7 separate regions of the Homo sapiens genome follow, and regions 2, 3, 4, 5, 6 and 7 are each linked to region 1. The links are contacts of gene promoters, found by promoter capture Hi-C in blood cells and fetal thymus (Javierre and others, 2016). All regions are on one chromosome and are shown on one strand. Each heading gives the region's core, a stretch centred on a gene start or on the middle of the fragment in contact. The rest is flanking DNA. Distances are from core to core; before and after follow the strand shown. Region 1 holds the start of ENOX2 (ecto-NOX disulfide-thiol exchanger 2). Region 2 holds the start of SMARCA1 (SNF2 related chromatin remodeling ATPase 1). Region 3 holds the start of OCRL (OCRL inositol polyphosphate-5-phosphatase). Region 4 has its middle 54 kb from the start of OCRL. Region 5 has its middle 43 kb from the start of APLN. Region 6 holds the start of STK26 (serine/threonine kinase 26). Region 7 holds the start of SASH3 (SAM and SH3 domain containing 3).

Region 1 (3,451 bases), core at 711-3,210:
TGAGTAGCTGGGACTACAGGCATGCGCCACTATGCCTGGCTAATTTTCTTGATTTTTTGTAGAGACAAGGTCTCATTATGTTGCCCAAGCTGGTCTCGAACTCCTGGGCTCAAGCAATCCTCCCAACTTGGTGTCCCAAAGTGCTAGGGTTACAGGCATGAGCCCCGGCACCCAGCCGATTTTTCTTTTTTTAAAAAAGCAAATTATTTTCCTGGAGGAATTTAAAAGTATAAAAAGTATTAAAACATAATATAGCAATTCAATTACCACCCTCCAGAATGATTCCCCATAATACCCTAGCTATGTGTTCCCAGTATGTTCTATGTGTATATGCTTTAAAAAATAAACACTATATAAGCACAAAAATTCCTCTGATGGTTCTCTCCCACTTTCAAGTTAAATTATGAACTAATTGATATGACCCCTTGTTGCTGCCTGATCTAGTCTCTGCAATATGGAACTTTTGCTATTGTTCTCTGCACTCTTTCATGCCTTTATGCCTTTGCATATGCTTTGTATAGAATATGGTTGACCTCCCTGCCCCAAATCTGACAAATATTTTACTGGTTCTTCAACCAGTTCTCCAGAAGTAGAACAAGTTCTTCCTCCTCTATGTTCCTATAGAACCCTATGTAGACTTCTTTACAGCATTTTGCACATTGTATACTCATCTATTCCTCCCCCCAGATTCTCCTCTACTACAACTCCCCTCACCTGGATTTTGAGCTACTTGAGGGTAGGGACTATTTTTCCAATTCTGTGGCAACAGTGCCTAGCCCAGAGCTTTGCACAAAGCACTATGCTGAATAAATGGTTGAATTTATTAAATCGTCTTCCTCCTTCACTTATCTTTTTAAAATATTGGGCAATTACCTCAGCAAAATGCAATTCCCCTGTCTTTCCCTTCATTTTACTCGTGAGTCGAAAAGTTGTCCTCATCAAGAAGTTGTAGTAATTCAACTGTAACAAGGCTACAAGGATTCATCTCTAACAGAGAAAAAAAAAGGTCAAAAGTTGGGAGTGAAATTAGCCCTAATAAACAACCATTTTCCTCAACCTTTAAGTCACTTGGAAGTGCTTGGCATTCCCCACCTATGTCTTTATCCAGCTCTTGTAACATATTTTTACTCAAAAGGTTAAGTTTCTTAAAGACACATATAGTTACTCGTTTGTACTTAAGTTGTATTGTCTATCTGTTCTAAATTGTTATTTATAGCAGTTTATGTGGCCACTGTTTTTCATGGCAACAACATAGCTTCATTATGGATTAAATAGGCTTCTTCTGGGCTGGTGTAGATCACATTTCTATGCCTATTTATGACACTGTTTCCAGGGGGAACTATAATTTCCAATTAGAAAAAAATATATACATTCTTCCATACCTTTCAAGTGATTTTAATGCAGGTGGTTCACAAGGAACACACTTTAACAATTTTAAAGGACTATAACTCTCAATTAAAATTCTAAGCTTACCAAAGAATAAACATCATCTTTTGAAAAACACTTAAAACTCAATAACAATTTCAAATCACGATAGAAAGTGCTTCCCGCAAAATGCTAAGAGCTTAACCGACATGAAAATAAATCTAGAGCCTTCGTCTGTCCCCACAAGCACAAACCCATAACCCCAAGAGAGATTCTCTAGACAGTGCACCCAAACTACAATACCCAGAATACCCTTCCCCGTCTGAACGCTGGGGACAATCGGAAGGGGAGGGGAAGAATTGTGCGTATAGAGAAATAAGTGTCCCGCAACTCCATCTCCCATAATTCTCGGTCCTCACTTGTGTCTGTCTGCCAATGTCAACACGAGTTACCCCCAGGAAGAACAGCCTCCAGCGACCTCAAACTACATTTCCCATGAAGCCATGGGCTCGGGCCTCCGGCTTCCCCGGTGACCAGTAGCCAATAGGAGACGCCGCAGTGGGCACCCTGTGTGTGAGAGTCCAGCCTTGGGCCAGAGTGCCGGGTCTAGGCCTGGAAGCGCGAGGCGGGCATTTCGGAAGAGAGTGGCGCGGCGTGGGGCGCCGCGAGGGCACTACGAGCCCAGGAACTGCCGCGCCGGCCCGATTTTCCGCGGCTGTATAAGGACTAGCGCTTCGGTAGCCGGGGAGCTGGAGGTCAGAGAGGCAGAAAGCCCCGGTGGCCGTGGCTGGGGACTGTGGGACTGAGGGGGCCTAGGGAGGAGGGTGCTTCCGGGGCCGCGGTCCTCAGCGCCTAACTCCACCCAGCTCCACCTCTGCAGGGGAGGGGGTATCGGGACTGGGAGTCGGGGGTGGGCTTTTGAGCTCTAGGCGCCAGTTCTCTTGAGCCCGGGAGCGCGCTGTCTTTGCTCTTTTTTTTTTTTTTTTTTGGTCCAACTCGCCCGCCCCTTTTTTTTTTTCCCACGACGCCGCCCCCCTCCCCCTGGCTCTGTGCCTCCTCAGAGGTCCGAAGTTGGGGTTTGCGTCCAGGGTTTTGCCTAGGCGGTGACTGGACTCTAATTCTTACCGCAGGAATTGGGTGATCTCTTTCCTCTTTTCCCTCAATTTGTATTTCAGGTTTGGGCACATAACCCTCCCTGCGCTACACTCCCCATTTTCTTTGGGGCATGGGAATTCCTTGCCACGCTCAGGGCGTGACTTTTTTTTTTCAAACTTTCTCTTTTTGCCTCCTTAATTGATCGCCATCTCTTTACTGGCCCCTCAGCCACCTGCCACTTCCCCCACCAGGTCTTTGAAGTGGGGAGAGTTTCCCCTCAATTTCTAGAAGGGATGGGAAGCAAAAGAGGGAAGGAATCTTGCTTTTGAGAAATGTGTGTTTAAGGTTCAGTGCAGGGTTCTGGTGAGAGTAAAAGGCAAGTTAGACTGGTTATAAAAATCCAGCGCTTTAGGGGTTTCCAGCAAAGACTGATAGCACTAATGTTGACAAACATTTAGGGGGCACACCTTTATTCTACAGAATAAAGTAGACCGTGTGAAACAGACCATATTAATCATTGTATTATTACAAACGTGTGCAAAAAACGCTAAGAGGGGTCAGTGGAAGAGCATACTGATGGGGGTGGTGAGTTCATCTATGGAAGTTCAAGCCTAACCCGGGAAGTGCTGAAGCCCTCATCCGGCTTTCAGGCTTTGTGAAGGAGGTGAATTTTAATCTGGGCTCCAGCAGAGTACAGGGGATTTGAAGTTGTCAAAGAGGAGGGAGAAAATGCTTCCTGCTACTGAGATTGGACTTTGAGAAGGGTAAACAGAAGAGGGAGCACTGTGAGACAGGTGGGCTTGCCTGATTGGAATAAAAGATATCAGCACAAATATACTGGGAAATAAATAGGGTGGAGAAGCTTGGGGTCATAATAACATGATACTTTGAAACATACACATAGTTTGGATATTATTCTGTATCAAATAAAATTGAAGGCAAAAATTAAGATTGGATGATTTTTCTTTTCATCCTAGGGAACCTGATTTGA
Region 2 (3,451 bases), core at 550-3,049, 1.4 Mb after region 1:
GTTGACCAAGCATCGACCTTTCCAGCCAAATTCATATACTTGGTAGCACTTTCAGCCGCGTCATCTTGAAAAGGAAGGATTGCATTATACATGCATGGAAAATTGCCAACGTACAAATATGTTCTGCCCCCAAATAAATTTTTAAATTCTTTTTTTGGAACATGGAACACATGTCCCCACAAAAAAAAGGTGTTATAAAGGGATGTGTTTCCCAGATTTCCTCACAAAAGTGCATTTAACCCACGATGTAACTGAAATAATGTACACTGACAATGAGAAATACAGTGGAACAAAACTGACTTGAAAGCAGGGACACACCAATACACAACAAATATTTCTTGAGCTTTTCTCCTTTGCAGCCCCATGCAAGGAAAGAGGAATTCTATCTTTCAATAGCTGCAACATGGTGAAAAATAAATCCTCCACTGTTGCTGTCCTTAAGGGTCCTTCTCAAGACAGGGTATTTAGGGTGTCCATTGCCTCAAGTATTTATCATTTCTATGTGTTGGGAACATTTCATGTCCTCTCTTCTAGCTATTTCGAAATATACATTGCATTGTTTGTTCAGTAGAGTCACCCTACTCTACTTTGAACATTATAACTTATTCCTTCCATCTAACTGTATATTTGTACTCATTAACTGACCTCTCTTCATTGATCCGCCTCAACCCCACACACCCTTCCCAGACTTCTGGTACCTATCATTCTACTCTCTACCTCCATGAGATCAACTTTTTAGCTCCCACATATGAGTGAGAACATGTGTTATTTGTCTTTCTGTGCCTGGCTTATTTTGTGCAACATAATAAACATCAGTTTCATTTATGTTGCTGCAAATGACATTTCATTCTTTTTTATGGCTACATAGTATTCCATTGTGTATACAGACCACATTTTCCTTAACCATTCACCTGCTGATGGACACTGATTGATTCTGTATCACGAAATGATTTTATATCCATGATCATTCATATTATGTGTTGTATTATTACCAAATAATAATGGAGGTGCAAATAGAACCTGTGCCAAAAAATCACAGTAATTCATTTCAATTGCTAATATTGAGTGCCTACCACATGTTGCCCCAGGTTCGGTGGGTAACCTTGTCCCCTAGGAATTTAAAAATGCAGTGGTGAAGGTAAGAGAAGTGTTCCTGCACATTGGCTACCTGAGAGGTACCAGAGGTGAAAATAGAGCAAATATACGTAAAACTTGAGAGTCAGACTTTGCCTTGTAAGTGAATGTGTTTGCAGCTGCAATCAAGAGATTCAAGGAGTGCTTCTCTTTGTGCAGAATTTAGGAAGGTGGAAACAGCACCGCTAATCCTACCTCTTTAGGGATCCGGGAAAGGGCAGTCCCAGAGGGGTTCCGCGCTTTGCAAATGGTGAAAAAGACCTTCTACAGTACAGTTAGGAGCAGAGGAAAAGTTCTTTGTGCAAGAAGGGGAGAGCGCCCCGAGGTACAAAGAGCAGATTTAAGGGAAAGAGGATTCGTTCTGCACGCATCTGCGAGGGGAGCTCAGGCTCACTGTTGGGGGCGTGTGGGAAAGGAGATTTTCAGGGGGCCGCGAGTTGTGGGTTCCCGCCTCCACCCCTGTCCGCGCCCCACACTCAGGCAACAGTTGGTCGTGCGGGGCCGGCCCGGGCTCTGGGTGGGGAAGGGGAGTCTCGCGATCGTTGAGGGGGGGGGGGTGGAGGAAGGGGGGAGAGTGACGGGGGGAGGCCATGACGTAGGGTGGGTGGACGGAAGTGGGGCAGGGTTGAGGGTTATTTAAAGAAGGGGGGGCCTGAGCGAAGGGGTTGGAAGCGGAGTGATTCCCCACCCCTGCTCCATCTAGCTCTTTCCAGTGCAGCCACTGCCGCCGCCCAGGAGCCCTCGTCCCCTGCCTTGTCCCCCTACTCGTTCCCGCTCCCACGGCATGGAGCAGGACACTGCCGCAGTGGCAGCCACCGTGGCAGCCGCGGATGCGACCGCCACTATCGTGGTCATAGAGGACGAGCAGCCCGGGCCGTCCACCTCTCAGGAGGAGGGAGCGGCCGCCGCGGCCACCGAAGCCACCGCGGCCACGGAGAAGGGCGAGAAGAAGAAGGAGGTAAATAGGAAGGGGGTGTGTGTGTGGTGGACAAATCCTGTGCCTGGCCCCTCTGAGGGGCCCAAACCCTGACCTTTCGGCGCCGACAGGTACCCGCGGAGCTTTGCGGGGCTAGGGGCGGCGGGTGCGGGGGTCGGCGGCGGAACCGCCTGGCGTTCGCTCCCCTCCCCCTTTCCTTCTCGCCGCCTGGAGGACGGGGGCGGGGCTGGGCGCGGGCGGGAGCGGCGCGGGGTGGAGGGGTGCCCGCTCTCCCGGGGCCTGGGGGCTCGGGAGCCCCTCGACAGCCCCCGACCCCCTCCACCTTCCCGGAACTCGGGTAACGGGGTGGGGGATGGGGCTGTGCAGGAAAAAGCCTCCGCCTCTCCCTCTCCTCTCGCTCGCTCCCTCTCCCCCCGCCTTCCCGTCGGCCTCTGCCTGGGAAATCTGGGCCCTTCAATCCCACACTCGCGCTAAAGGGGTTTTGCTGGGGCTTTTTTTGTAATTTGAATTTCAAGGTGCTGGTGGTTGCTGGGTGGAGGGTGACAGGGAAGACATTTCTTTCTTTCATTGGCAATGTCGGTCTTTTGGATGGCAGGAAAAAAACCATCCCTTGTTCGTTTGAACCCCGCCTGCCGAGGTGGGGGTGTCACCCCGAGGAAAGGAGCTCTCTGCGTCGTACCCCCCCGCCCCCCCAAACTGAGGAACCGTGGACGCTGGCTTAGGAAAATTTCCAACATCTGCACCCTCACCCTCTTCTGCCCCGCCCCCGACGGTATAGGGTTTCACTCCAGGGCCACCCCAATGGTCCCTCAATCCGGCCCCAAGCTTTCCAGGCTTCCGCCTCCCTCTCCTAGTGGGCGCTGCTGGCTCCTGGACACACACAGGTTTTTTTTTTTTTTCTCCTTTAATTTTTAAAAAACTCAGCGTCGCCAAGATGAGCTGCTTCTAACGTAAGGGAACTGCTCTGACACATATTAAAGCCAATCCAGAAAATATGTATTATCTCCATAAGGCACATTTCGTGTGGCCCGAGACATGCAAATAAAACTATAAAACGTTGAAAAATTGACATAAAAATAGGATGGGGCATAAGCATTTTTGATGTATGATAAAATTGCATAACTAATGGTTTATGTGTGGATTTTTTCCTATTTACGAGTAGTCATATCGCAATTTTAAAAAGGTGGGTAATTATGCTTTAGAGATCTCAAGTGGCTTTGTCTGAATCATTATATGATACTATACGACCAAATGAAAAGCTTTTGAGGAAAATGAACACCTTTCGCCTTAAATGAGAAGAGTAATTTTAAATTTAGCAGTTGCTTCTGTGACATATTTTACTATTACAAGGTTGACTAAACAGAAGGACAATTGTAGTGC
Region 3 (3,451 bases), core at 291-2,790, 1.4 Mb after region 1:
GACAGCATAGATACAGAGGATCTAAAAGTGGGGACTGAGAAAATTGGTTTTAGGCAGAAGCCAATGTTGGGAGATGGCAAGATTTAAGTGAACAATTTTTAAACTGGGAAGGAATATGATGTCAAGAAGCCAATGAATATCCAAGTGAGGTGTCTTGGGCACACAGGGATAGGGGCCTATGATACGTAATGGTCACCATGGATATTTTTGAGATAAGATATTAGTGACAATAGAGTGAGGTTAGCAGCTATGGTGATAGCTTATCAAAATAATCTTTTGATCAATCAGTCAACAGTATTTACGGAGCTCCTATGGCAGAGAGGAAGGTGACACACTGATAAAATACTGTCATTTCTATCTCTACACATTTCATTACCTTTTCTTTCTAACAGTAAAGTCAGTAAGTGAGGCAGTTTCTGGCCTACACTAAACCATTACTGAATTAATGAATATGCCTTCAACCCAGTGGGATAAGGGGACGGGGAGACTGGAGAAACCAGCTGAATAGGGTTAAGACAAGTCTGTAACGTTAACAATGAAGCATTTCCATAGCACTTTTACTTTTTGGAAGCCACTCTCGCATTTATTTTTCCCCCAGTTATAATTCCAAAGGCTGTAAGGTAAGGCAGTTAATGGTTTTATTAAACTGAAGAGTTAACTTTGGCCCAGAAAGCTTTATTGACTTGCCCAACGTTACACAACACATGTCAGTTGCAGGGGCAGGAACTAAGAACCCAGGCTTCCTGCTTCCCCGCCCATTCAGTCCTTCCACTGAGCCACACTGCCAAGCACAATCCAGAGGCTTGGAAGTTGGGGACAAAGCCCCGAGGTTAGAGAGCACTGGCACTTCACACCTGGACCTGAACCTGTTGCCCGCGTGGCTTCAGTAGGAGGACAGTGGGTGACCCGTCGCGGTTTGGGGTTGGGAGGTAATGGCAGGCTCCCCTCCTCTGTGGGAATCAGGTGGTTACTTACTCATATTGCCCGTTCCTCTGGGCTAGGGTCAGGGCGCAGGGCTCCCGGAGAGGACCCTTCATCTCCATACCCTCGACAGTATGCGGGCGCTAGTCAAGGGTCTCCTTCGGAAGCGCGGTGGGGAGGAGTGGTGCACTGCGGGGCGAAGGGGGTCTTCCACCCCCCCCCCACCGCCGCCCTCCCCCGCCCCGCCCCGCCCTGCTTCGTCTCCCGCGCCGGCCCCCTCCCCCTCTCTGCTCGGCCTCTGGGCCACCCGGTTGCCCCGCCCCACCGTGTTCCGCAGGGCCCCCGACCCCCACCCCCGGCCCTGCGCGGCCTCCCCTCTCCCTTCTCTCCGGCGGATACGGCAAGCGGCTGGGCTCCGACCGGGAGCGGCGGCTCCATCCAGGCGGCCTCCGGGCTCAGCAGGACAGCGGACTGCGGGCCGATCCGACGACACTGGCTCCCGCGTCCCCACACCCACCCACCTCGGCTGCGTGTCGTTTGAGGAACAGCTCCGCGCCGGGCGCCGGGCGCCGGGAGCCGGGAGCGGGGAGCTGGGAGCTGAGAATCTGACCCAAGAGAGAGCGGCGCCTCGCGCCCCCGCCAGTTTTCCAGGCCGCCGCAGATTCCGTCCCCTGCGGTCAAACTGCGGAACTGCAGCGAGAGACCTGACGGACTGGGGGCGTCTCTACCAGGTCCAGCAAGGAATGGGTTTTAAATGCCACCTGTGACATCAAAATTGTTCTGAGGACTTTGAAGGCCACAGAAACAAAACACAGTCATACCTATGGGAGATCTCAAACCTGTTGTGTCAATACGACCCACATCATTCAGTAAAAAAATACATATATATATATATATATATTTCTTAAGGTTATAATGTCCCGTGTTGGTTATCCTACCATTTCCTTTCCTCTTCTTTCTTCCACGCCCTAAATCGGAGAATTCCCCAAAGCCCAGACCTTTGCTCCTCCTCTGCGTCCCCTCCAGTTCACCTCTAACTAGACAATGTCCAAATATATATCCCTGGCCCAGACCTCTTACCTAATAGAGTCCATTGTTAACACATCACTGCGTCACAAAACTAACTCATTATCATTTCACTGGAAAGCCATATATCGTCTTCCCCCTCCTCATCTCTATATCCAATCAGTCAACACACCCTGTTAATATTTTACGTGGAATTACTTTTAGATTCCTTATTTTCTCTCCATTCACACTGCCATAACTTTATTGTAAGCCCTTGTGATAGCCTATCTGGGTTATTGCACTTTTCTTTAAATAAATCCTGTTGGGTTTACTCTTTCCTTTGACATGTTTACTCTGTTGACAGCCATAAAAATATTTTTCCCAAAGTAATTTTTCGATCGTGTTATTCATTTGCTCCAGAATCTATAATACACTAGATATCAAGAGTGACTGTAAATCTGTAGTAATTAAAAGTATGCTGTGGAGATAGACAATCAATGAAACACAATATAAACCCCTCAAACAGACCACACATATACGGAAGGTTGATATGCAGCGTGTGGGACATTTCAAATCAGTGGGGAAAGAATGGATTATCCACTAAGTGGTACTAGGACTACTGCTTATCCATATGGAAAATTATAAAAATTAGACCCCTACCTCAAACCATGGAAGAAAAATCAGTTCCAGGTGGATTAAAGATCTAAATGTGAAAAGCAAAACTTTATAACTTTCAGAAAAAAAAATTGAGTATGAGCTTGGAATATGGAATGAGAATAAGACATTTAGCTACATGAAATTTCAAAATGTATGTACTTTAAGACAATATAAACAAGTTAAAAGACAAACTGGCCTGCACAGTGGCTCATGCCTGTAATCCCAGCACTTTGGGAGGCCGAGGTGGTAGGATCACTTGAGCCCAGGAGTTCAAGACCAGCCTGGGAAACGTGGCAAAACCCTGTCTCTACAAAAACTATAAAAATTAGCTGGATGTGGTGGCAAGTGCTTGCAGTCCCAGCTACTCAGGAGGCTGAGGTGGGAGCATCCCCTTGAGCCAGCGAGGTCACATCTACAGTGAGCTGTGATGGCGCCACTGCACTCCAGCCTGGGTGACAGAGCAAGACCTTGTCTCAAAAAAAAAAAAAAAAAAAAAAGACAAGCTGTCATCACCTTTCGGACATCTCCCACCATTTCCCACCACTCTCCCTAACTAGCTTTGCTTAGTCACACTGACTCCTTGTTGTTGCTAGGACTTGCCAGGCACACTCTTACCTCAGGGCCTTTACACTTGCTGTTCACTCTGCATGCACTCTCACCTCCTTCAGGTCTTTGCTCAAATGTCACTTTCTCACTGAAGCCTTCCTAGACCACTTTATTGAAAATTGTAATTCAACAATCCCCTTCTCCATCACCACACATACATGTTCCCTATCCCTCTTCCCTGCTTATGTATCACTATCTACCACTTCTGTTTTATTTATCAATATTATTGGTCATTTACCTTCACCCGCTAGAATGTTGAGTT
Region 4 (3,451 bases), core at 606-3,105, 1.3 Mb after region 1:
CAAGATACGGTGTCTTGGCTTCCTGAGGTTTAAGTCTCAGCTAAAACATCACCTCCTCAAATAAACTTTTCCTGACCAAGGCCCCCCGCTGTACCCTCGAGTGCATCCCCGTTTGATACTCTCCACAGTACTTGTCAGGATCTGTAGTGACCTTGGGTACTGTTAATTTGCATGTCTGTCCACCCTCATCCCTGCCCTGCCCTCTTGATGAAGGCACCATGAGAGCGGCAACCTTGTCTGGTTTAATTCTAGATCCCCAGCACCTTGAACAGCACAGGGCGCACAGGAGCCACTCAACAAATACTTGTCAAGTGAATAACCCATACTGAGATGTAGGAGGAGGAGTGATGGTTGATGGGGAAAAGTCCAGAGAGGGTGGAGGAGAAGGGCTCAAAAGTGCAGGTGGAAGAGCTGGTCTTGGCGAGGAGGACCGCTTATTCTCAGACAGATGGAAAGGGGGAGGGATGAGGTTAAGCTGAAGACATTTTGATGTGCAGGGGGCAAGGCTGTTTTGACATTTTCACAAAGTAAAGGGTACAGTCACTTGCTGGGAGCTGAAGGGCAGCAGAAGCGGGTTCTGGGCCTGGAGGCCCATGGAGGGCTTGGGAATAATTGCACTAGCTGCCATTTATTTAGCACTTAGGCACCAGGCACTGTTCCAAGGCCTGGAAATGTAGTATCTGATCTCATCCTCATGATGATACTATGAGGAAAGGTGCTATCATTACTTTTAAGATGTGGAAACACCTTCAATACGTACAATTTGTCTTCTCAATTATACCCAATAAAGCTGGAGAGAAAAGACATGGAAACCAAGGCACAGAGACGTCAATTAACTTTTGATCAGGGTCACACATCTAGAAGTGGCAGAGCTGGGATTTGAACTCAGGCAGTCTGGTCATTAGAGCCTATGTGAAGAACCACTATAGCTTCCTGCCTCCCCAGGCCCCGTGGAGCAGGTACGTGAGGTCATCAAGAGAGGAAGAGGAAGATTGTGGAAGAGTACATGGCAAGCCCAGGGGCAGTCAGCCAGCATGCTATACCAGGAAGCCCAGGAATGAGGGCAGAGAGTCAATGGGACAGGGCGGGTGACTTAGGGTTAGGCACAGCAAAGATGGGGACTGAGGCAAGAAAGAGAGAGGAAGGAGTTTTCTGGGTAAACAGCACATGCAAAGGCCCTGAGGCTGGAAAGAGTTCAGCTCACTGGGAGGAGTAAAAGGACAGTATCAGAGTATATTGGCAGGGGTGAGGAAGGGTTATGGTAGGCAGAGGTCAGATCCTTTAGGGTGGTATTCTCAAAGTGTGGTCCTGCATCAAAATGCTCTTGGGTCCTGATTTAGAATGCAGACTCCTGTGCCTCCTCTCAGACCAACTGACTCAGAATTTCTGGAGCCTAGGAATCTGCTTTTTAACAATGTATCCAGGTGATTCTTCTGCACATGAAGATTTGAGACCCATTGATGCAGGGCCTGGTGGGCCATGGCGAAGCTTAGGTTTCATTGTAAATGTCGCTGAAGGGTTATCAACAGGGGAGGGATGAGACTGATGTAATTAAGTCATGCTGCCTGCTGCGTGGAAAATGGATTGGAGGGCAGCAAAGTTAAAAAGACCAGGCAGGGCATGGTGGGCTCATGCCTCTAATCCCAGCACTTTGTGAAGCCAAGGTGGGAGGACTGCTTGAGCCCAGGAGTTTGAGACCAGCCTGGGCAACACAGGGGGACCCTACCTCTACAATTATTTTTTTTTTAATTAGCCAGGCTTGGTAATGTGCGCCTACAGTCCCAGCTACTCGGAGGCTGAGGTGGGAGCATCGCTTGAACCTGGGAAGTCAGGCTGCAGCAGTGAGCCGATCATGCCACTGCACTCCAGCTGAGGCAACAGAGTAAGACCCTGTCTCAAAAAAGAAAAAAAAGAGAGAGAGAGAGAAAGAAGACTAGGCAGGAGGCCATGACGACACCCTAAGAAGGGATGATGGTGGTGGCCTTGACCAATAAAATTGGCAGTGGGGGTGATGAAAAGCAGACGCGTGGGGCACGTTGCTGAGGTGGTCGGTCGGTAGGAAAGAGAGAAATCAAGGCTAACTCCTAGATGCTTAGCCCCAGCAACTGGGCAGATGGTGTTGACATTCTCTGAGCTGAGGGAAGACAGGTAGAGGATCTAGGTTGGGTGGTAGTAAAAGAACCAGAAGTAAAAGAATTCCACTTTGGACGTGTGAAGCTTGACATGCCTGTGAGACATCTGAGGGGAGATGCCAGCTAACTAATTGGATATACTGGGCAGGAACTCGGAAGAGAGCTATGAGGTGGAGACGTAACATTTGGAATCAGGGGTATTACAGACATTTACAGCCACGGAAATTGATAAGATGCCACCAAAGGAATTAATGGGCAAGCAGAGTAGAACTGCTTGAAAAAACAAATGCCACTATGCCATGCAGTGTCACTAACCTAAGTAACCTTAGGTCAGTCATTGTCCCCTCTGAGACTTTCCCTATCCAAACAATGAGATTGGATTAGGTCACCACTAAGGTTCTCTCCCTAACATTTAGTGATGCCACTGTTGCAATGTGTGGCTTTTACATTATGAGGCTACACCAAGAGCCAGTTCTTCAACTTGCCCTGCAATCAGAAAGGTCCTAATGGGTCTCCTATAACAGAAGCCTCACAGCTGGGGATGCCATTTCCTCTCTAACCTCTGGAAAGACTGACCACCTGCCTGCTATTCTCATTGCCTGCTACTATGTAAAAACTTCTGGTGTCAGTCTCCATCTGCTGGGGGGAAAATCACTCTCAGAAAGAAACACCTTCTCCTGCCAAGGCTTTGGGTGGGGCTTTGAAAGTTGTTTATGACAACACTGAGTCAGCACATTCATCAGGGTCAAGCTCACAGTTGGAGGGAATTGGAAGAGGGCCTTAGTAGAGAAGAAACCTCCAGCTGAGGCTTCTTCAGTCTCAAAGGGAATGGAATCAGAATCCACAAATTCATAATGGAGATTGGCAGGGAAGCATTGGCACCATGCTCAAATCAGCGGTTTCCTCCCAACGTGTTAGGCAGTTCAGATTAGAACAACAAAAAAGTACTAAATTTATGGACTTGATCACCCCAAGAAGTCATAAAAGTTCAAAACTGGTTTTCAAAAGCTGCAAAATAGGATTATGTGAAAACAAGCTCTTTGGGGAAGCGCGTCTAAACTACTGAGACTACTGAGCAGGGGTAGCTGGGTTCTCCCCAGATGTGTATCTTAGGGTTTGTTTCTGGGGCCGGAGGGATCACAGATCTGACCTAGTGTGACATTTACATGCATTAAGAATCAACATCCTTTCCTCTAATTGAGTTGTTTTGTTGCCTGAATCCTTAGGGTTAAAATAAGGGTACTTGGCTGGCCTCTGAAAGTACAGGACACCTTTATTAGCCTCTGAAAACGCATGGTTTCTTCTCATCTCTGAGGGTG
Region 5 (3,451 bases), core at 609-3,108, 1.3 Mb after region 1:
TCTTGTTTTGTGCTGGACACTGTGTGTCTTCAGAGAGGATCTATAACCCCCCTCCCTGTGCCCAGCACAAAACACATAAGCATAATATGAGTTAGCCATTGCTACTACTATCAGTACATTATTATTAAATGATGATAATTAAAAGTAGTAATTGCTTGATTTATGCTTTTTCCATTGGAACTGCAAGTTCCATGGAGGCAGGCAAGGACCATGCCAGCCTAGAGCCCTAGAACATAGTGGATGCTAAACTTATACACAGTAGGTGCTCAATGAAACCTCAGGAGTGTCTTTCACCTGGGAATTTGATAACTCTACTACTACTTTAGGACTCAAGTATTTCTTTTTTTTGAGATGGAGTCTTGCTCTGCCACCCAGGCTGGATTGCAGTGGTATGATCTTGGCTCACTGCAACCTCTGCCTTCCAGGTTCAAGCAATTCTCCTGCCTCAGCCTCCCATGTAGCTGGGATTACAGGCGCCCGCCACCATGCCTGGCTAATTTTTGTATTTTTAGTAGAGACAAGATTTCACCGTGTTGGCCAGGCTGGTCTTGAACTCCTGACCTCAAGCAATCCACCTGCCTCGGCCTCCCAAAGTGCTGGGATTACAGGCATGAGCCACCATGCCCAGCCAGAACTCAAGTATTCTTAAACATGAGTCATCACTGCCTCTTCCCTACCTTGCAGGAGACAAAGGCTATAGAGACCTCAGTCCCTATTTTCCCTTGGGAAACTCACAGTCTAGTAGGCTCAGCCCTAAGAAATTTCTCCGAAGACATTCAGAAGTAAGTAATTGATGAACAAGATAGGGGATGACTGTGATATTTATTAACAAAGAAATAAACTGGGTGATGACAAACAGTATATGTGTTTCTGGGGTACCAGGGGAGATACTTTGACTTTATATGGGTTGTCAGACCTCTATGAGCTAGTGGCTTTTGAGCTGAGCCTGAAAGATGAAAAGGAAGCAGCCCACAAAAATCTGGAGGAAGAACATTCCAGGCAGAGAGAACAGCCAGCACAAAAGCCCCAGGGCAGCAAAGGACTTGGGGCCTCTTGGACCAGAATGGAGGCTGGTGTCCCTATGGGATTAGGCAGAGAGATAAGGTTAAAGAGGCAGGTGTGGGCTGATCATGCCAGGGCGTTTACGCCATCTTAAGGGAGGGTCATGAGCACAATAACAATTCATAGCATTGAGACCTTTCCCAAAAACACCTTGTCACTACACATGGCTCAATGATCTACATTCTATTCGAGCAGAGGAAAGATGTGGCACTTAGTCAACCATTTTCCCATCACAGTTCTGAACATGTTGGAAAAGCAAAGCTTCTCTTTTTTGGACTTCACCAATTCAAGCTTTGAACTAGTTCATATAGCGGTTGGGCTATGAGACAGTGGGTTTGATACACTGCCTCCCAGTACCCACCAAAGGAACCCAGGATCTTCTGTTTAAAAAAACAGACCCACCAGCAAGTTAGAAATCAACCATGGCTGTGCTGCTTGCATATCAGGCTTATCTATTCACTAAAGCTCGCTCCTGAAGATTCCTATTTGACATAATTGTGTTAACCCTCTTCCTATTGCTATGTAGTGGAAAATGATTGTTAAAAAAAAAAAAAAACACGTTGGCCGGGCACAGTGGCTCACGCCTGTAATCCCAGCATTTTGGGATGCTGAGGCGGGCGGATCACAAGGTCAGGAGATTGAGACCATCCTGGCTAACACGGTGAAACCCCGTCTCTACTAAAAATACATAAAATTAGCAGGGCATGGTGGCGGGCGCCTGTAGTCCCAGCTACTTGAGAGGCTGAGGCAGGAGAATGGCGTGAACCCGGGAGGCGGAGCTTGCAGTGAGCCGAGATTGCGCCACTGTGCTCCAGCCTGGGTGACAGAGTGAGACTCTGTCTCAAAATAAATAAATAAATAAAATAAAACACGTAGTTTTGGGGGAAACATTCAATATGTTGATTTTTAAAAACAGAATAAAAACTCTGATCTCTGCCTAATTCATCTGAATTTCCTGAGTGTCTATTGATATATCTGTGATGAAGGATTTGTGTTCACATCCTGGGCAGAAGACATAGTAAACCTCGAAATATACCAAACACAGGGACAAGTTCCCTCCTCCCCCCTCTTCCCCCAAGAATTCTATTCAGAACCAGGTTCCTGGTCTTGGTTCCTTGAACCTGCCTGGCAGACAGTCCCAGGTGTGTGTTTCCTTACACTTTACATCCGAGCCACTGTTCTGACTTTCGAGACTTTCCTTCTTCCTCAAGGCTCAGCCTAGAAGACAGTGTGTGGCACAGATTGCGCTCAGCAAATATTTGCTCCCCTACATTTCTCAGCCTTTCTTGCAATTAAGCTTGGGCCACGTGACTAATTCTGACCAAGAGAGTCAGTGAACTTAATGTGCATCATTTCTGGGCCAAGACAGTTAAGAGTTGGTGTGCTGTTATGGGCTGAATTGTGTCCCCCTTATCCATATATTGAAACACTAGACCGCCAGTGTGGCTGTATTTGGTGTTAGGAAGTAATTAAGGTTAAATGAGTATGGGGCCCTGATCCAATAGGATTAGTGCCTTCGTAAGAGGAGATACCAGAGAGCTAGCTCTCTCTCAGCCATGGGAAGACACAGCGAGAAGTCAGCCATCTGCAAGCCAGAAAGAGTGCCCTTACCTGACACTGAATCTGCCAGTGTCTTGACTGTGGGCTTTCCAGCTGTGGAACTGTGAGAAATGAATTCCTCTTCTTTAAGCTACCCAGTCTATGCTAGTTTGTTATGACAGCCCATGCTGACTAAGACTATTTACTTCTCCATCTGTCTTTCCCCCTGCTGTGGAGTTCTAGGAGGCCACATGTTTCAGGTTGGCCTTACTACGTGTCATCCAACCTGCACTAGACTTTTGTGAGAACCAGAAATAAGCCTTTCTTGTGTTAAACCCCTGAGATTTCAGGGTTTCTGTGTTATTGCAGCATAACTCCACATATTCTGACCAATGCACAGTGACAGAGAAAAGGACATGGCACATCATCTTTGTCCAAACAAAAGCAAAAGCAGATGTGGGCCACCAGCTGTTCTCCCTCTGGCCCATCTTGTCTCCAAGGCTGAAGGTGGCCCCAGTGAGTCCTGGGTATTAAGACAGGTGCAAACTGTGCTTCCTGGGTCCTGGGATTCAGCAAACGATGAAGATTTAAACTGCTGGAGGAATCCACTGAGGTTTCAAGTAAGAAAACAAGAGCTCCAGCTGCTCTTGGGAAACTCTGGGAGGTAAGGTATTGTTTCTAGAAAGCCCCCACTGAAATGCACACCAGTTCCCTGGAAGGAGTCATGCATTTATCCACTGACAACCAAGAGGCACATGTTAGGGACTGATTTATCAGGGGAGGGCTAGAGGGACAGGCCCAGGGCCTCAGGGCCACCCTGGGTCACAAAGTAGGAGGTAGACCGCACAGC
Region 6 (3,451 bases), core at 302-2,801, 1.1 Mb before region 1:
CAAGAGTTCTAGGTGCACAAATAAATCCCATTTTGGGAAAGAATTTAAAAATCACTTTTGTGGACATTCATAAAATGAGAACACTGAAAAAAAAAAAAAAACTCCATGTATCAATAAGTAAATTGAGGCCCCAGTCTACAGCTCTTTGATTTCTACTAGAAATATAAGCTATTTACTATAAACATTTTATTTTTGAACTTCAAAAAAGTTTGTTTTCACATTTTAGATCATGAAAGACTGAGGCTTCAGTGGTTTTAGCCCCTAAATGGGTTGTTTAGGCCATCTAGCAAAGGAAAAAAAAATAGAACATGAATGCTTTAAAAAGTTAGTAAATTTGGATAACACTTAGCAGATAGCCTAAAATGCACCGATTTAAAAACATAACAGCATAAAAAGTTTTCTGACATAGCTTATCTTTAATAAAATGAAAATATAATGGGAGGGGGTTGGGCTGGGTAGACTTCGAGTAACAAGTTGGGTCCCATGCAGTAGTCCCTTGTCCAAGACAAAAAGCTTCCTTTAACCACATGTAACAGTCATCTTGTGGGAAAGGCACGGAGGGGGCTGAGAAGTCATCACCTCAGTGACTCTGAACAGAACCAGCATTTCTCACGCCACACTATGGGCTGGGCTAGGTCGGGGAGCAAGCTACAACTTTGCCCTTAAGCAGCAGTACCGAAAGGGAGAAAGAGGTCACCTCTCTCTTAGCCCTACGCACACAGGAAGAGCCCAATTCAAGCCGCCGCCGCCGCCACCCCTGGTGTTGCCCCGCCCCAACTTGAGTGTGTGTTTGGGGTGGGGGGTGTAGGGCACTCACTACTCGCGTTATACCCCACAAATTCCAAGGCACTTCCATCTCTCCCAGGTTAAGTTCCGCCCCCCCATCCCCAACCGTGCCAAGCTCAGCAGGCGCAGGTGTCTGTGGCTCTGGCCTATTTTTATACCCCCAACCGCCCTCAATCTCCACCTAGTTGCGCGCTCCAGTCCCGCCTCGCCTTCCCAGCGAAGAGCACTACCTAGCCTACACACCAGGAAACACCTCCAGCCCTACTCCCAGGTCACCTGGCCATAGTGACCGGCCCTGCCCTCAGGGGAGCCCTGGGGCCGTCCCTTGTCGCCGGTGCCCAGCACCGAGGGCGCACCGGGCTCCCAAGCAGTCACGTGGGCGGCGGGGGCGGCCTGCGCTTCCTCACCTGCATCCCAGGCACTTGGACAGCCACCGGCGAGTGGGCCATGGAGGCGAATGCTGCCTCGCTCCGCTTCTGCGGCGGTGGCGCCTTGGGTTCGGACTGGCTCCTCCCTCCGGGGGTAGTTCGGCGGCCCTCCCAGGCTTTTCGATCGGGGCCTGGGAGGACACACAAAAGTGGGGTTACTGGGCTGGCGGCGCGTAGCCCGGGGCTAGGAGGTGGGCTGTTAGCGGCGCAGCTCCCTGGGACTCAGTCTACCTTTCTGGCGCCCGCCCGCCGCTGAAGCAGCCGCCTCCGCTGCTGCTCCTCTTCCTGAACGCCGAGCGCTGTGAGTGGTGGTGGCTGGGACCTGGGCTCGAGTGATGCCGCTCCTCTGCGCCTCGCCGCTTTAGGAAGAGGAGGTGGAGGCGCCCCAGCCACCCGCCTGCTCGCCTGGCCTGGGAGGCGGTTGGGGGCGGTTCCGCCGTTGGCCCTGCCCCCGCCCCGCAGCCGGGCGGTGTCGCGGGAGCCAAGGCTCCAGGCAGCGAAGAGGTTTGGCTGGGGTTGCTGGAGTCTGAGAAGCTGGAGACTCTCCCGGCACGCGGAGAGGAGAACCCGGGGACCCGGAGACCTGGGACATGGCTGGGCCTGGGAAGAGAATGGAAGAGTTTGGGAAACCCTGAGGGTATGAGGGCGCCCCAGATGCGGCCACGTTGCAGGGAGGCGTGCGAGGCTGGGGCACACGCAGCCTCGGAGACGACTTGAGCTGAAACTTGGGGAGTGTTGGAAGTCTTTCTTGGCTCCCCGGCCTGGCCAAGGGTAGGATTACAGATAGCCGCGGAGTCGGTGGACCCCCGCTTTTTCCCGCCATCTGGTCTCCTCAGCTGGGGGTCGCGCCTCTGGGCAGATCTGTGGCCACACTCTTGCTTTCCGAGTTCCCTGACCCCAAACATGCTTCAGGTGACTTCAACTTAAGGTTCCCCCTACCTCCTGGGCTATCCCTTGCAGAACGGCCAAACTAGGGCTTCTCTCTACCACAAGTTCTGCACGTGTAAGGCAGAGGGAAATTGGAAAACAGATGGTACATCGGCAGAAAAATTAATGAGGATAGTAGAGGCTTGGGAAATGAGATTGGATCGTTAGCAGTACAGGTTATTGAAATCAGCATACACTGCAGTGGTTTTGGTAACTCCCTGCCTCCGCCCCATTTTAAGTTCTACTCCAGGAGAGGGAGACAGGCTCTTTTGAGAGTACTCTAACAGTAGCGACAGTAACACTGGTAATAATAGTAACAGGAATTTCATTATGAAGGCACCTTTGGGAACACGTAAGGGGTTAATTACTTTTTAAAAAAGTAATAGTCGAGTGCCAGTTTAAAATGAAGATGAAGTTCCTTACCTTGAAATTTGTTATGGGTCTCTACGCACCACACGGTGGGGGGCCTCTAGTGGTAAAAGATAGTTTCTCTTCTTCCTTTTAAATCTTTTTCAGAGAATAGTATATAATTCTTATCAATATCGTTATTATTAATGGATATTATTTTCATTGTGCCAGGGACTGCTAAGTGCTTTCTATGTGTTATTAATACCTTACTGAACCTGTACAAGGGCCTTCTGGAGTCTTATTGATTTCCCCTCATTTTACAGATGAAGAAAAAGGCTCAACCAGGTTAAATAATTTGACCGAAATGTCACGCAATTAAGAAGTGGTACAGCTGGGAATTCAGACGCAGGTCCCTCTGACTGGTGATAAACTTACTACTTTCTCTATGGTTTCTGTTTGTGTTTAATGATGATAAAAGGTACAATTGCATTTTCCTTACTCCTAGTTCCCCAAGTCCAGCCCTTCACTATTTCTAACCTAATGTTAGGCTCCAATCTAGTCTCGATTTCCCACCAACCCAGCTCACAACATTGCCAGCCTGACCGGAAACCTGCAGTGCCACCTAAACTTTTAATGTCCATAGAAATCCGAGGGTTCTTTTGCTCCCTCAAAAGCGCAGATTTTTATCTCCCATGTCTGGACTGGGCCCAAGATTCTGCAATGCTAACAAGCTCTCACATGGTGATGATGTTTAGATCACACTTTTAAGTCGCAAGGGTCTGAATCAAGCTCCATCATTTAAGACCTGTCTCAAATCTCACCTCCATTGACCCTTCCTAGTTGCTCCAAGCCCTCCTTCAAACTCCTCCAATGTGAGCAGCGCTCACACTGTAGTTCTTTCTTCTTATTTCATATATTTCATTTGTTTTGTGTGCCCATATTAGGTCCTTGAGGGCAGAGAT
Region 7 (3,451 bases), core at 675-3,174, 1.1 Mb after region 1:
CAGAGTGTGTGGAGGCAAGCTCATCCCAGCTCTGGAGGCTGGCACCGGCTCTGGCAGGGGTTGGGGTGGGGTTTGCCTGGACTACTCTCCCCGAAAGGACCCCTTCTCCTGGGAGAGACCTGGGGAAATCCCAGGGGCCCACTTGCCTGCCGAACACAGAATCTGGGTAATTGAAGCTGGGAAAGAAAAAGGGGACTTCTGGCTTCTGTGTGCCCCTAGGTACGTCTTCCTGATGTGGCACAGGGTCCCAGTGTCAAAGTGTCAGCTCTTTCTCACACTTTCCTCCAGCTCAGCGCCCCTGTGGTTTGAGGCCTAGCAGTGTCTATAGAGCAATCTCTGTTTCCCACCCCCACCAGCCAGAGAGCAAGGGGAAGTGGCCCTGCTCTCTTAGGAGTGGCAGCCAATGGCAGTCCTGCTGGGCCTAGCACCCTGCAGGGTTTGGACGGGGATGACAGAGCCCGTGTGAAGATTCATGAACCTCCCCCCTCCCCCGCCCACCACCACTGCAACCTTAGAGAAGCAGCTGGGGTGGGGAGAATACAGCCGGAAGTGGCAGCCACCCCAGGACCTGAGAGCTGGGGCAGGATGCACACCCCACTGCCCCGAGTCTCAGTCTTTCAGCTGCCTTGGCCTCCATCTCTGAGCTACTCCCCTGACAAGGGGGATCCACCATAGGGCACCTGGGCTGAGTTCCAGGGAAAATTGGCGGGGGATAGCCTGGGCCTCTTGGACCTAGTTCAGGCCTGCTTTGGGACTGTCCTAGCATCCCATTGGATGTGTAGGATATACTTGCTGATTGTCTGGGAGAATCCTTCAATTGAATTAAAGAATTAGGTCTAGAAATCCTCAAACCCAACCAAAGAAATCTGGAAATCCTCAAATTCAACCACAAAATCCTAGATCTGGCACAGCCTTCAAGGATTCTTCCAGTCCGGTCTCTGCCCCAGGGGGATGAACACCTCAGCCATCCATGACAGCTGTTTTTCCTCCTGGCCTTTAAAATCCTCCCTCCTCAGCCTTCACTCCTACTCACCACCTCAACTTAATTTCTCATTCCCCACCCAGGAAGAACCTGTATGCCCCCTGCATCCCACTGCACTTCCGGATGCCTTTTCCCCCAAGACTGGAATGGCCTCAGGCCCCCATCTCCAGGTTGGCTCCATCTCGGGTAGGGCCTGGGAGCTACCACAGAGCTGAGCCAAGTGGGCAGGGTCTGGGCCATGGCCAAAGTGGAGGAGGGGGTGGCAGTCCTGTGAGCATCATGGCTCCAAGCTGGGCAGCCCAGCAGGGCCCTTTGAGTGAGATGGCTCCTGAGAGGCCGTGGCCGGGGCAGAAGTGGCAGCAGGACCAGCGTAGAGGAGAGATAGTTAAGTACAAGCTTAGGGTTCAGCTTAAGCATTGTATTTTGTTATTCTCAAATTCTAGTCTAAGATTCTGGCCCCTAATTTTAGATCTTTTTTCCCATTCTTCTAGGGTTGAATTGCATGACTCTAGATTTCTAAGGATCTATTCTGTAACTCTGTTGCTCCAGAATTTTAAACATCTCTTCTGTACTTCTGTTAACCTTTGGGTCCCTGTCCCGTTGCCTTCTAGGTGAGTGGCCCTCACCTACAGACTCAACATATGGCCTTTGGCTCTTCCCACTTCCAAGAGTCTTGGAAGGGATGGGTCGAGCAAGCAGAGGAAAGGAAGATGTGAGTTCCCAAAATGCTCCTCACCTTTTTCTTCTGAGTGGGCTCCTTCTCACTGGCATTGGAGGGCTTGCGGCGCAGCATGGTCCTCCACCCTGGGAGACTCCGTCCCTGCTCTCCTAGGTGTCAAGATGCAGAGGCCTCTTGCTTAGCCTCACCAGAACTGCCCGGGGGCACGGCATGAACCGAGCCTTCAGCTGCCACTCTGACTGCTGCAGTGGCAGCTTGGGGGTGCGGGCCATGGACACCCGGCAGCAGCAGCATACAGGAAGCCCTGCCACGTGACCTACTCTTACAGCAATCGCAGCCCCTGCCGGCCCCTAGGGAGGAAGGAAGTCCAAGCTTCAGTCTCCAGAGATTCTGATGCAGACGGCTCTTGGGTTGAACAGTCAGAGAAAGTCCCTACCTTGTTGTCTCATGTCGATCATCATCAGTCCTTCTGCTCCATCTTCCTAGAGGTGGACAATCAGCTCGACATTATATGGCGTACCCAAGCCCTTTATCTCACTGACCAGAATCCAGAAACCAGAAGTTGGACCATCTGGCTGCCTGTTGGATCAATGCTCCCGGTCAACTCACGTCTTCAAGGTCGTCACTGCCATCACTACCACTACCATCACCCCTGTGACCATCACCACTGCTACCATCACTCCTATCAATAGCCATCACCATACAGCCATCACCCCTACAGCCATCAGGCCTGCAGCCATCCCCGCTGCCATCAGCACACCTATAGCCATTGTCACTATGGTAATCACCTCTACAGTTGACATCCTTCAGCCATCACCTCTACAGTCATCACCATTGCTGCTATCACCCTTCCAGCCATCATCCTTACAGCTGTCACCCTTCTGGACATTACAGCCAACCGCACTCATGACCCTCTCACCCCTATAACCATCGTCCCTACAGTCATCTCTCCTACAACCATCATCACATCCGTGCAGCCATCAGCCCTGCAGCCATCACTCCTACAGCCATCAGTACACCTAAAGCCATCATCACTAGAGCAGTCACCCCTCCAGTCAGTACCCCTCAGCCATCATGAGTATATTTATCACCACCACAGCTGAAAAGCACTTACAGCCAACTCCACACCTCTAGCAAGTATCCAACAGGCATTTATCAAACACCTATGCAGTATATTCAATTTGTGGGTTGTCTGTGGCAGATTTTAATAACTTTAATAACTTCTTGGTATTACAAAAGCAACTTGTATTTGTCATACAATTTCACAAACACATAAACAAAAAAAATTTCAAAATTTCCCATCATTGTCCTCTACACTGTTTTAAGCATCTATCTACTCTCTGTCTATAAACATTTTTTTTCTTTTTACAAAAATCATACTGCTCAGAAAACAGATAATTGGTTTGGGGAGAAGGGGAGGGGAGAGAAGGGAAGGGAGACATCACACAGGGTAACAGGAAGCTTTTAGGAGTGATGAATATGTTCACTATCTTGACTGTGGTGATGATTTCATGGGGGAATACACATGTCAAAACGTATCAAATTGTATACTTCAAATATGTGCAGTTTATTGTAGCTCCATTATACCTCAATAAAGCTGTTTAAAATTTTTTAATTAAAAAAGGTCATAATTCACACTATTGGTGTCTGCTTTTCACACTAAACACAGTATCTTTTTTGTTTTTTTTTCGAGATGGAGTCTCTCACTCTGTCTCCCAGGCTGGAGTGCAGTGGCGTGATCTCGGCTCACTGCAACCTCCACCTCCTGAGTTCAAGCAATTCTTGTGCCT

What was found. Contacts are between HindIII fragments. The CHiCAGO score rates a contact against its expected background, and 5 or more counts as called.
Region 2: the fragment with the promoter of SMARCA1 here is called in contact with the fragment with the promoter of ENOX2 in region 1 in 4 of 17 cell types (non-activated CD4 T cells, fetal thymus, naive CD4 T cells and 1 more); the score reaches 8.0 in non-activated CD4 T cells.
Region 3: a contact is called between the fragment with the promoter of OCRL here and the fragment with the promoter of ENOX2 in region 1, in 6 of 17 cell types (M0 macrophages, naive B cells, total B cells and 3 more). The highest score is 8.4, in M0 macrophages.
Region 4: a fragment that was not itself captured here is called in contact with the fragment with the promoter of ENOX2 in region 1 in 1 of 17 cell types (non-activated CD4 T cells); the score reaches 5.9 in non-activated CD4 T cells.
Region 5: a contact is called between a fragment that was not itself captured here and the fragment with the promoter of ENOX2 in region 1, in 4 of 17 cell types (total CD8 T cells, activated CD4 T cells, naive CD8 T cells and 1 more). The highest score is 7.9, in total CD8 T cells.
Region 6: the fragment with the promoter of STK26 here is called in contact with the fragment with the promoter of ENOX2 in region 1 in 3 of 17 cell types (total CD8 T cells, naive CD8 T cells and non-activated CD4 T cells); the score reaches 10.4 in total CD8 T cells.
Region 7: the fragment with the promoter of SASH3 here is called in contact with the fragment with the promoter of ENOX2 in region 1 in 8 of 17 cell types (total CD8 T cells, fetal thymus, monocytes and 5 more); the score reaches 12.6 in total CD8 T cells.

Annotation. Positions count from the first base shown.
Region 1 is chrX:130,901,718-130,905,168 of GRCh38, reverse strand. It overlaps ENOX2 (ecto-NOX disulfide-thiol exchanger 2), which reads left to right and starts at 1,960. Exons shown (of 15, transcript NM_006375.4): 1 at 1,960-2,120; 2 at 3,438-3,451. RefSeq lists enhancers at 1,745-1,934, 1,555-2,074, 1,945-2,214, 2,075-2,594. The HindIII fragment of the contact is 1,854 bases long and covers 1,471-3,324 here.
Region 2 is chrX:129,521,838-129,525,288 of GRCh38, reverse strand. SMARCA1 (SNF2 related chromatin remodeling ATPase 1) reads left to right here and starts at 1,799. Exons shown (of 25, transcript NM_001282874.2): 1 at 1,799-2,092. The coding sequence starts at 1,919. The HindIII fragment of the contact is 3,805 bases long and covers 1-2,898 here.
Region 3 is chrX:129,538,348-129,541,798 of GRCh38, reverse strand. OCRL (OCRL inositol polyphosphate-5-phosphatase) reads right to left here and starts at 1,540. Exons shown (of 24, transcript NM_000276.4): 1 at 1,321-1,540; 2 at 976-1,055. The coding sequence starts at 1,359. RefSeq lists silencers at 1,327-1,526, 1,637-1,696 and an enhancer at 1,413-1,707. The HindIII fragment of the contact is 8,325 bases long and covers 676-3,451 here.
Region 4 is chrX:129,592,710-129,596,160 of GRCh38, reverse strand. No RefSeq gene overlaps it. Among named protein-coding and RNA genes, the nearest start is that of OCRL, 54 kb to the right of the region's middle. The HindIII fragment of the contact is 729 bases long and covers 1,491-2,219 here.
Region 5 is chrX:129,610,141-129,613,591 of GRCh38, reverse strand. No RefSeq gene overlaps it. Among named protein-coding and RNA genes, the nearest start is that of APLN, 43 kb to the left of the region's middle. The HindIII fragment of the contact is 1,006 bases long and covers 1,356-2,361 here.
Region 6 is chrX:132,021,402-132,024,852 of GRCh38, reverse strand. STK26 (serine/threonine kinase 26) reads right to left here and starts at 1,551. Exons shown (of 12, transcript NM_016542.4): 1 at 1,446-1,551; 2 at 1,194-1,345. The coding sequence starts at 1,235. RefSeq lists enhancers at 870-939, 909-1,456, 1,310-1,469, 1,920-1,969, 1,457-2,003 and a silencer at 1,510-1,759. The HindIII fragment of the contact is 2,994 bases long and covers 516-3,451 here.
Region 7 is chrX:129,778,422-129,781,872 of GRCh38, reverse strand. It overlaps SASH3 (SAM and SH3 domain containing 3), which reads right to left and starts at 1,924. Exons shown (of 8, transcript NM_018990.4): 1 at 1,719-1,924. The coding sequence starts at 1,775. It overlaps LOC124905215 (a long non-coding RNA gene), which reads left to right. Exons shown (of 2, transcript XR_007068328.1): 2 at 1,594-3,298. RefSeq lists enhancers at 1-16, 127-306, 1,574-1,633, 1,684-1,763, 2,014-2,173. The HindIII fragment of the contact is 655 bases long and covers 1,381-2,035 here.